Regions from separate parts of the Homo sapiens genome. Here all the other regions are linked to region 3. Evidence: promoter capture Hi-C in human tissues and cell types (Jung and others, 2019). All regions are on one chromosome and are shown on one strand. Each heading gives the region's core, a stretch centred on a gene start or on the middle of the fragment in contact. The rest is flanking DNA. Distances are from core to core; before and after follow the strand shown.

Region 1 (2,835 bases), core at 286-2,785, 300 kb before region 3:
CAACCAGTGCCACATATCAGGGCCTCATCAAAGATTCCCAGGATGCTCAGGTGGACAGAGGACAGAGTACTGCCCAGGAAACAGCTATGTCACCTCTCTGGACAAAAAAGGCAGCACACAAAAGGTTTGGCCATATGACCTTTAGCAGCAGCACTGAATCAACAGCCAAAACAAGCATCTCTAATGGGGTTTGATTTTTCCCAATTTCTTCTCCCAATCCCGCTCCTCCTGTCCCAGTGTTCCTATTTCTGGTCTCTGCACCACCATCACCCTTGTCTCCTAGGATCAAAACTCAAAAGTAATTACTGAGGCTTCCCTTCTCTTTCACATCTAATCATTTGTTCATTTCCTCCAATTCATTCCCTAGTCCTCATGCCCTAGTGTTATTTCTTGCCTGGACTCTAAAGTGGTCTCCCGCTTCCAGTGTCTCCCCACACAGGAGGGCCACATTCACCTCTGCTCGATGACATCTGAGTAACAGCTACCATTTTCTGTGTACAGGAGCTAAGCCCAGACTCTTTAGCCTGGCCTGAATGCGCCCCACCCTTTGTTCCCATGACTTCCCTGCACATAACCTTTGCTTGCAAAATGATTACTATTTCTCCAACATGCTCTGGGATTTCCTGGCTCTGTGCCTGTGTTTCTATGTTCCTTCAGCCAGTGATATTACTCATCCATATCTCTCATATGCTTCCCATCCTTCAAGGGCTTAAATACCACCTGCTTCTGGAAGCCTCCTTGATCCCTCCCACTGGCAGAACCCCTACAGCAATCTACCCATTCTGCTCTCACAGAACACCTCACATACTCACTTGGGTTATGATTATGCAGTCAAGCACCACATAACACTTTGGTCAAGGACAGCCAGGCGTGGTGACACGCACAGTAAGCATATGCAACAGTGGTGCCAGAAGATTAACAGAGCTACAAAATTCCTACTGCCTAATGTGTAGCACAACGCATTACTCAAATGTCTGTGGTGATGCTGTTGTAAACAAGCCTATTGCAGTGCCAGTCGTATAAAAGTATAGCACATACAATCACGTACAATGCATACTTGGCAATGACAATGAATGACTATGTTACTGGCTTATGATTTACTATCCTATACTTTTAATTGTAATTTTAGAGGTTACCCCTCCTACTTATTAAAAAAAAAAAAAAGTTAACTGTAAAACAGCCTCAGGCAGGTCCTTCAGGACGTATTCCAGAAGGAGGCACTGTTGTCATAGGAAATGACAGCTCCACATGTATTACTGCCCTGAAGACCTTGCAGTGGGACGAGATGTGGAGGTGGAAGACAGTGATATTATCTTGACTCTGTATAGGCCTAGGCTAATGTGTGTGACTGTGTTTTAGTTTTTAACAAAAAGCTTAAAAAGTTAAAAAAAAAATTAAAGGTGGAGAAAAGCTTACAGAATAAGGATATAAATGGAAATTTTTTTTGTCTAGCTAAAGTTAATTTATTATTAAAGAACAATTTTATTTTATTTTTTTGAGATAGAGTCTCGCTGTCGCCCAGGCTGGAGTGCAGTGGTGTAATCTTGGCTTACTACAACCTCTGCCTCCCAGGTTCAAGCGATTCTCCTGCCTCAGCCTACAGTAGCTGGGACTACAGGCGCACACCACTATGCCCAGCTAATTTTTGTATTTTTAGTAGAGATGGGGTTTCACCATGTTGACCAGGCTTGTCTCAAATTCCTGATCGCAAGGGATCCACCTACCTCGGACCTCCCAAACTGCTGGGATTACAGGCATGAGCCACTGTGCCCGGCCAAACAAAAATGTTTCAATTAATTTAATGTAGCTTAAGCATACAGTGTTTATAAACTATATAGTAGTATACAGGGCTAGGCCTTCACATTCACTCACCACTCACTGACTCACCCCACACCAACTTCTAGTCTTGCAAGTCCCATTCATGTTAAGTGCCCTATAGAGGTATACTGTCTTTCATACCATGTTTTTACTGTACCTTTTTAATGTTTAGATATGTTCAGATACACCAATACTTACCATTGTGTTACAACTGCCTACAGTATTCAGTACAGTAACATGCTGTCCATGTTTGTAGTCTAGGGGCAATAGGCTACACTGTATAGCCTACACATATAGTAGGCTGTAACATCTAGGTCTGTGTAAGTACTATGACATTCACACAACAACAACATTGCCTAAAGATGCATTTCTCAGAACTCATCCCCGTCATTAAGCAACATATGACTGTATATGTATTCTTCATACCTTTTCTGGAATGTCACTGAGACAGAATCTACATCCAGTTATGTCACCTTTAACATGCTGAATAAATTTTTATTTATTTATTTATTTTTGAGACAGGGTCTCACTCTGTCACCCAGGCTGCAGTAGAGTGGCGTGACTTCAGCTCACGGCAACCTCCGCCTCTTGGGCTCAAGCAATCCTCCCACCTCAGCCTCCTAAGTAGCTGGGACTACAGGTGCGTGCCACCATGCTTGGCTAGTTTTTTAGTTTTTTTGTAGAGGTGAGGTCTCACTATATTGTCCAGGCTGGTCTCGAACTCCTGGGCTCAAGCGATCCTCCCGCCTCAGCTTCCCAAAGTACTGAAATTACAGGCATGAGCCACCATACCAGCCTGAATAAAATTAATGTAGGAGTTCTACATTATGAGCCAATTGAATATAGATAGTCATCTCGTCAACATCAACACATTGATCATCTTCTTCCTTCCTTGTACTAAATTTGCTGCCATAAATCTTCCCAGAATCTGGGCTATGTTGCCCTGGACTGGCTTACTCCAAGGCCTTCAATGACACTTGATGCTTTTACAGGCAGACTGCCAGGCAACACACAAAA
Region 2 (2,875 bases), core at 77-2,576, 270 kb before region 3:
CAAAACACAAATCTTAAGTCACAAACTGACACATTTCTAGCAAAGTAAAGAATACTTTACAGGCATGGTGGCTTGTGCCTACAGTCCAAGCTACTGAGGAGACTGAGGCAGGAGGATCACATCAGCCCAGGAACTTGAGGCTGCAGTCCACTATGATCACGCCTGTAAACAACCACTGCACTCCAGTTATAACAACAAGAACTCCATCTGTAAGGAGTTGCCTTTAACTCAGTTCCTAATATTTCAAGTAAGTAAAGTGAGTCATTCATTAATCTACTAAAAAAAAAAAAAAAGAAATCTTGATTCTGACTCTGAGATACCTAGGCCAAGTGTATAGGATACAAAAATTTTGACTGAAGTACAATGTTAAGGTTTTGTGGTGCAGTGGCTTACACCTGTAATCCCAGTACTTTGGGAGGCCGAGGCGGGCGGATCACAAAGTCAGGAGATCGAGACCATCCTGGCTAACACAGGGAAACCCGGTCTCTACTAAAAATACAAAAAAGGCACCTGTAGTCCCAGCTACTCGGGAGGCTGAGGCAGGAGAATGGCATGAACCTGGGAGGCGGAGCTGGCAGTGAGCTGAGATAGTGCCACTGCACTCCAGCTGGGGTGACAGAGCGAGACTCCGTCTCAAAAAACAAATAAAATAAAATAAAATAAAATAAATAAATAAATAAATAAAGATTTTGTATGCAGCACAAGTTTCTTTCACCATGGTAACAGCATTTTAAGAAACTAAAGCAAAAACAGAAAAATAAAATGGTAAGTATTAATACATTATCTAAAACTTCTTAAATGGCAATAAACACTTATTGAATTAAACATACCATTTTTCTCATGTATCTGTACAATGGAATTATAGGATTGTTGGGCTCTTGCTAGATTATATTGATTCTGAAAGAGAATTACACATTTTAAATCAAAAGTGTAATTAGGTGAAAATTATTACAATAAATTTATGAATGCATCACACTGTGCTTAAAAGAACATGGGAAACTGACTATCTCCATTTCAAAAACAATTTTAACTTAATAGCCTCATTTCTCAGTTTCATTATTCTCTACAATTTTATAAAAATAACAAAACCAAAATTGTACCCCAATAAAACTCAACAAGCCTCACAGTTCATTTTTATAAGTCTTCCTACCATTGGACAAGTACAAAGCTTTCTGGTTCTAGAGTCCGTCTCCATATTGCTGAATCAAGTTAAAGGATTATATCTGGATGTTAATAAAACTCAAACTGTCTTCACACAATTTCTATTTTTAAAAAAACTACAAAATATTACTTTCAGATAAGAAAATATTAAGCTTCCACAACTATACATATGAATGACATTTTAAGTTAGAAATCTAAAGAATGCCCATAATTGTCACCATGCTTACTAAAGGAGCCCTCTTTTGATAAAAATATACAATCTTTTTAAGGAGCCAAATCTAGGATTAATTTTGTCACCATAAGTACAACCAACCTATATCTTCGCTTCGAATTAATATACCAGGAGCACTCTCCATAGTGGTACCCATCTATCCACTATATTATGTGGCAGAAATTTTTGCATAATAAATTCACACAGCACAAGACTCAAAAATGTCTACATCCTAAGTGAAAACTCTCCCTCCTACTTGGTGCCCTGAACACCCAGTTTCCTCCCGTTCATCCCCCTTCCTCCACACAAGTTAACCACTATTACTAATTTCTTGTATGTCCCTCTTTAAGATTATTCATGTACAGCCCACTGTTATTAGCCACTGTCCCTGGCTTTCCTTCACTAACAGTTGCATGCTACAGACACTGGTCTGCCCCTTTTCTTGTCTAGCATATCTTGGAGAATGTTCCTTATCAGTATAGAACATACCTGTTTTAAACACTGAAATATTTCTATTATATGGATATTCAAATATTTAATCAGTCCCCTATTGGTGGACATCAGGGTTTCTCAATATTTTGCTGTTATAATGTTGCCAAGAGCAACCTTGTACGTATATCTGCTGAGTACTGGTAAAAATGTCCTAGAGTAGAGCTGCTGTGTCAAAAGATATATATGTGTAATTCTGAGATATTGCTAAATTGCCCTCTACATAACTGCACAAATGTGTCTGCCCACCAGCCATCTGTAAGAGTGCCTCGATGCAGCCTCACCAATGCAGTACTTCAAACATTTGTAGATTTCTGACAATATACTAGATGGACTCCCAGTATAGTTTTGATTTGTATTTCTATTGAGTGAGACTGAGCATGTCTCCATTATGTTCATGAGCCATTTATTTCTATTTCTGTAAACAGACTTTTTATACCCCCTTTTCCTATTTTTTTTTAACATGTTAAATTTATGTAAGGACTTTTCCTATTTTTCTACAGGGTAGTCTTTTTCAACATCTAAGAGCTCTTTAAAATAGTAAAGCCGGCCAGGCACGGTGGCTCACACCTGTAATCCCAGTACTTTTAGAGGCTGAGGCAGGTAGATCACCTGAGGCTGGGAGTTCAAGACCAGCCTGACCAACACGGAGAAACCCCGTCTCTACAAAAATACCAAATTAGCCAGGCGTGGTGGAGCACACCTGTAATCTCAGCTACTTGGGAGGCTGAGGCAGGAGAATCGCTTGAACCCAGGAGGCAGAGTTTGCAGTGAGCCCGAGATCGTACCATTGCACTCCAGCCTGGGCAACAAGAACAAAACTCCATCTCAAAATTTTTTTTTTTGAGACGGAGTCTCGCTCTGTCACCCAGGCTGGAGTGCAGTGGCACAATCTCGGCTCACTGCAAGCTCCGCCTCCCGGGTTCACGCCATTCTCCTGCTTCAGCCACCCCAGTAGCTGGGACTACAGGCGCCCGCCACCACGCCCAGCTAATTTTTTGTATTTTTAGTAGA
Region 3 (2,885 bases), core at 326-2,825:
AATACCCTAGTGGACAGCTTTGCTCAGCCTGGCCACTGAAAGAGCCACCTAAATAAAATCTCAGGTCCAGGCCGGGTGCGGTGGCTCACGCCTTTAATCCCAGCACTTTGGGAGGCCGAGGCGGGCAGATCATGAGGTCAGGAGATCGAGACCATCCTGGCTAACACAGTGAAACCCCGTCTCTACTAAAAATACAAAAAAATTAGCCGGGCATGGTGGCAGGCGCCTGTAGTCCCAGCTACTCAGTAGGCTGAGGCAGGAGAATGGCGTGAACCCGGGAGGCGGAGCTTGCAGTGAGCGGAGATTGCGCCACTGCACTCCAGAGCCTGGGCGACAGAGCGAGACTCCATCTCAAAAAAATAAAAAAAAATCTCACGTCCAGAAAAATTGGCCTTCCAGGGCCCCAGAACCCTTTTTACCAGTCTAGTAATAGCCTTTCATCAGCCTAATTTCCTATTCTTTTTAGTCTGAATGTATGGTGTAATGTGCATAAAATACACAAGTCCAAATTTTAGCATTCCGTGGACGCAAAATGTGCCAAAGGTGGATACTTTGCTTCTGTCATACATCGGTAGTCAACTTCCCTATACATCAAACTTTCAGCAAATTCAAACATTTTCCTTGAAAGCTGTGTTACTTTGGCCAAATTACTTAACCTCTCTGAGCTTCAGTGTGTCTACTTCCTCATGTCATGATTAAGAGTTAATATCTACTGGCTTAAAAAAGAAAAAAAAGGAAAAAAATTAAATGAGATGATGGGTGTGAAGCAGGGATTGGCTGAATGTAAGCATTCAATAAATATTCAGTTTTAAAATTGTAATCTCAGCCTTCCCGCCCTGCAGAGGCTACACCCTGGCAGGACTTAATCTCCTAAATCTCTGCCGCTTACCCTAGTCTTTTGCACCAATTTAATCATTCCTTCACGCAGGGTCTACTGAGCGCCATCCCTTGTGCTGGACTCTGGCTACTTAAATAGGAATCAAGCCAGGTCCCTACCATTGCTCAGCCCGCAGCCGAGTGGGAAAGAAGCTCGCAAAAGCAGCAAACAGGCAGTAATCGAGGTATGTATCTGCTTTTGTTAAGGGCAAGTGGGGGAGCGAAGGTCTGTGTCTGAAACTTGGGTGTGAGGGGTTAGTTGGAGTAATCCAGGCAATTGGCACTGCCCGTTTAAGAGCACGGGCCCAAGAGGGGAAGGGGACTCCAGGTGAAGCCCTAAGGCCCGGGAAGATCTGCGGGAGGCGGCAGGGCCCAGGGCGTTGAATGCCCGGCCACAAGATCAGCCTCCTCCCATTGGCGAAAGGAGCCCCGAAGAGCTTGTGTTCAGGAGGGAGGCCTCGGCCTGGTCAAGTCATCTAGCAGGAAGAGTCCCGGACAGTGCAAAGCAAATGCAAGAAGACCCCCTCCCTAGCCGATGGGAAATGCCCCAGCCGTTGAAGGCGGAAATAACGGCCTGTAGGCAACGGAACTCCCAGCGTTCGCAAAGGAGGGAGGAGCCGGAAACTCAGGGCGCGAGGCCTGTGGGCCCAGCGGTGAGGCAGCAGCTGGGGGCGGGGGGAGGGCGGACCTAGCTTCCCAGGGCAGGTGATTCGTCGGCCCCGGTGGCGGCGGCGCGTGCGACGGTCACCTCGGTTTGGGTGAGTCCCTGGGTTCGAGCCCGGGCCCCGCCAGCTGCCGAGTTGCCTCTCGGTGCCGGACTGTGACTCCCTCTGGCCGGCCCTGCACTCTGGCCTCCTGGGACGTCATCTGGAGGGATAGAGCCAGGCCTGGGACTCCTTTTGGGAGAGTTTCCGTTCTTCTATTCCGTGCTGTCCGGCCAGGACCCCTCAGGGACTTCTGTGGGGCAGGGGCGAATCATGCATGGCCTAGATGACCCCATGCCTAGAAAAAGGCAGTGCGGGGCGGTGGCGGCGCGCACGGCCGAGTGAAGCAGATAGCGTCCCCGGGGCTGGAGCCCGGTAGCAGGGGTAGGGAAACGCGGAGGCTGCCAGGATGCGGACCCAGGGGACGCGAGGCGGGGGCGCCGGATGGGGAGACGCGAAGGAGGGGGAAGGGGATGGGGGAGGGGGCTAGACAGGGAGGGAGGGTGGAGCGTGGGCGGGGCCTGGGGCGGGTCGGACTTTAGGGAGTTGGAGCGGGGGTTACTGGTGCTAAGACCACCTGGGGCTAAGGTCCGAACACTTGGAGGCAGCACCATCCAAGGAATGGGTTGAAACAGCAGGAGCCCGGCGGGGCGCAGTGGCTCACGCCTGTAATCCCAGCACTTTGGGAGGCCGAGGTGGGCGGATCACCTGAGGTCAGGAGTTTGAGACCAGCCTGACCAACATGGTGAAACCCCATCTGTACTAAAAATACAAAAAAAATTAGCCGGGCGTTGTGGCGCGTGCCTGTAATCCCAGCTACTCGGGAGGCTGAGGCAGGAGAATCGCTTGAATCCGGGAGATGGAGGTTGCAGTGAGCCGAGATCATGCCACTGCACTCCAGCCTGGGCAACAAGAGCGAAACTCTGTCTCAAAAAAAAAACAACAACAACAAAGAAAAAACAAAACGAAACAGCAGGAACCCGCCAAGAACAGCCTTGAAGGAAGGTAAAGGAACCGCCCCAGTATCCAGGACATCAGTTTTTCTTTTTTTTTTCTTTTTGAGACGAAGTCCAGGCTGGAGTGCAGTGGCACGATCTCGACTCACTGCAAGCTCCGCCTTACGGGTTCAAGCCATTCTCCTGCCTCAGCCTCCCGAGCATCTGGGACTACAGGCGCCCGTCACCATGCCTGGCTAATTTTTTTGTATTTTTTTTTTTTTTTTTAGTAGAGACGGGGTTTCACTGTGTTAGCCAGGATGGTCTCGATCTCCTAACCTCAGGTGATCTGCCCGCTTCAACCTCCCAA

The links. Contacts are between HindIII fragments. The study calls those that stand out against the background at their distance.
Region 1: a fragment that was not itself captured here is called in contact with the fragment with the promoter of SNUPN in region 3 in 2 of the 25 tissues and cell types used here (IMR-90 fibroblasts and adrenal gland).
Region 2: a fragment that was not itself captured here is called in contact with the fragment with the promoter of SNUPN in region 3 in 1 of the 25 tissues and cell types used here (mesenchymal stem cells).

The regions. Positions count from the first base shown.
Region 1 is chr15:75,920,321-75,923,155 of GRCh38, reverse strand. All of the region lies in intron 5 of FBXO22 (F-box protein 22), which reads right to left. Among named protein-coding and RNA genes, the nearest start is that of FBXO22, 18 kb to the right of the region's middle. The HindIII fragment of the contact is 3,498 bases long and covers 1-2,835 here.
Region 2 is chr15:75,895,017-75,897,891 of GRCh38, reverse strand. It overlaps UBE2Q2 (ubiquitin conjugating enzyme E2 Q2), which reads right to left. Exons shown (of 13, transcript NM_173469.4): 12 at 831-897. It also overlaps the pseudogene RN7SL510P. Among named protein-coding and RNA genes, the nearest start is that of FBXO22, 7.4 kb to the left of the region's middle. The HindIII fragment of the contact is 4,691 bases long and covers 1-2,875 here.
Region 3 is chr15:75,624,415-75,627,299 of GRCh38, reverse strand. SNUPN (snurportin 1) reads left to right here and starts at 1,575. Exons shown (of 9, transcript NM_005701.4): 1 at 1,575-1,634. RefSeq lists an enhancer at 1,207-1,396 and a silencer at 2,047-2,096. The HindIII fragment of the contact is 13,243 bases long and covers 1-2,885 here.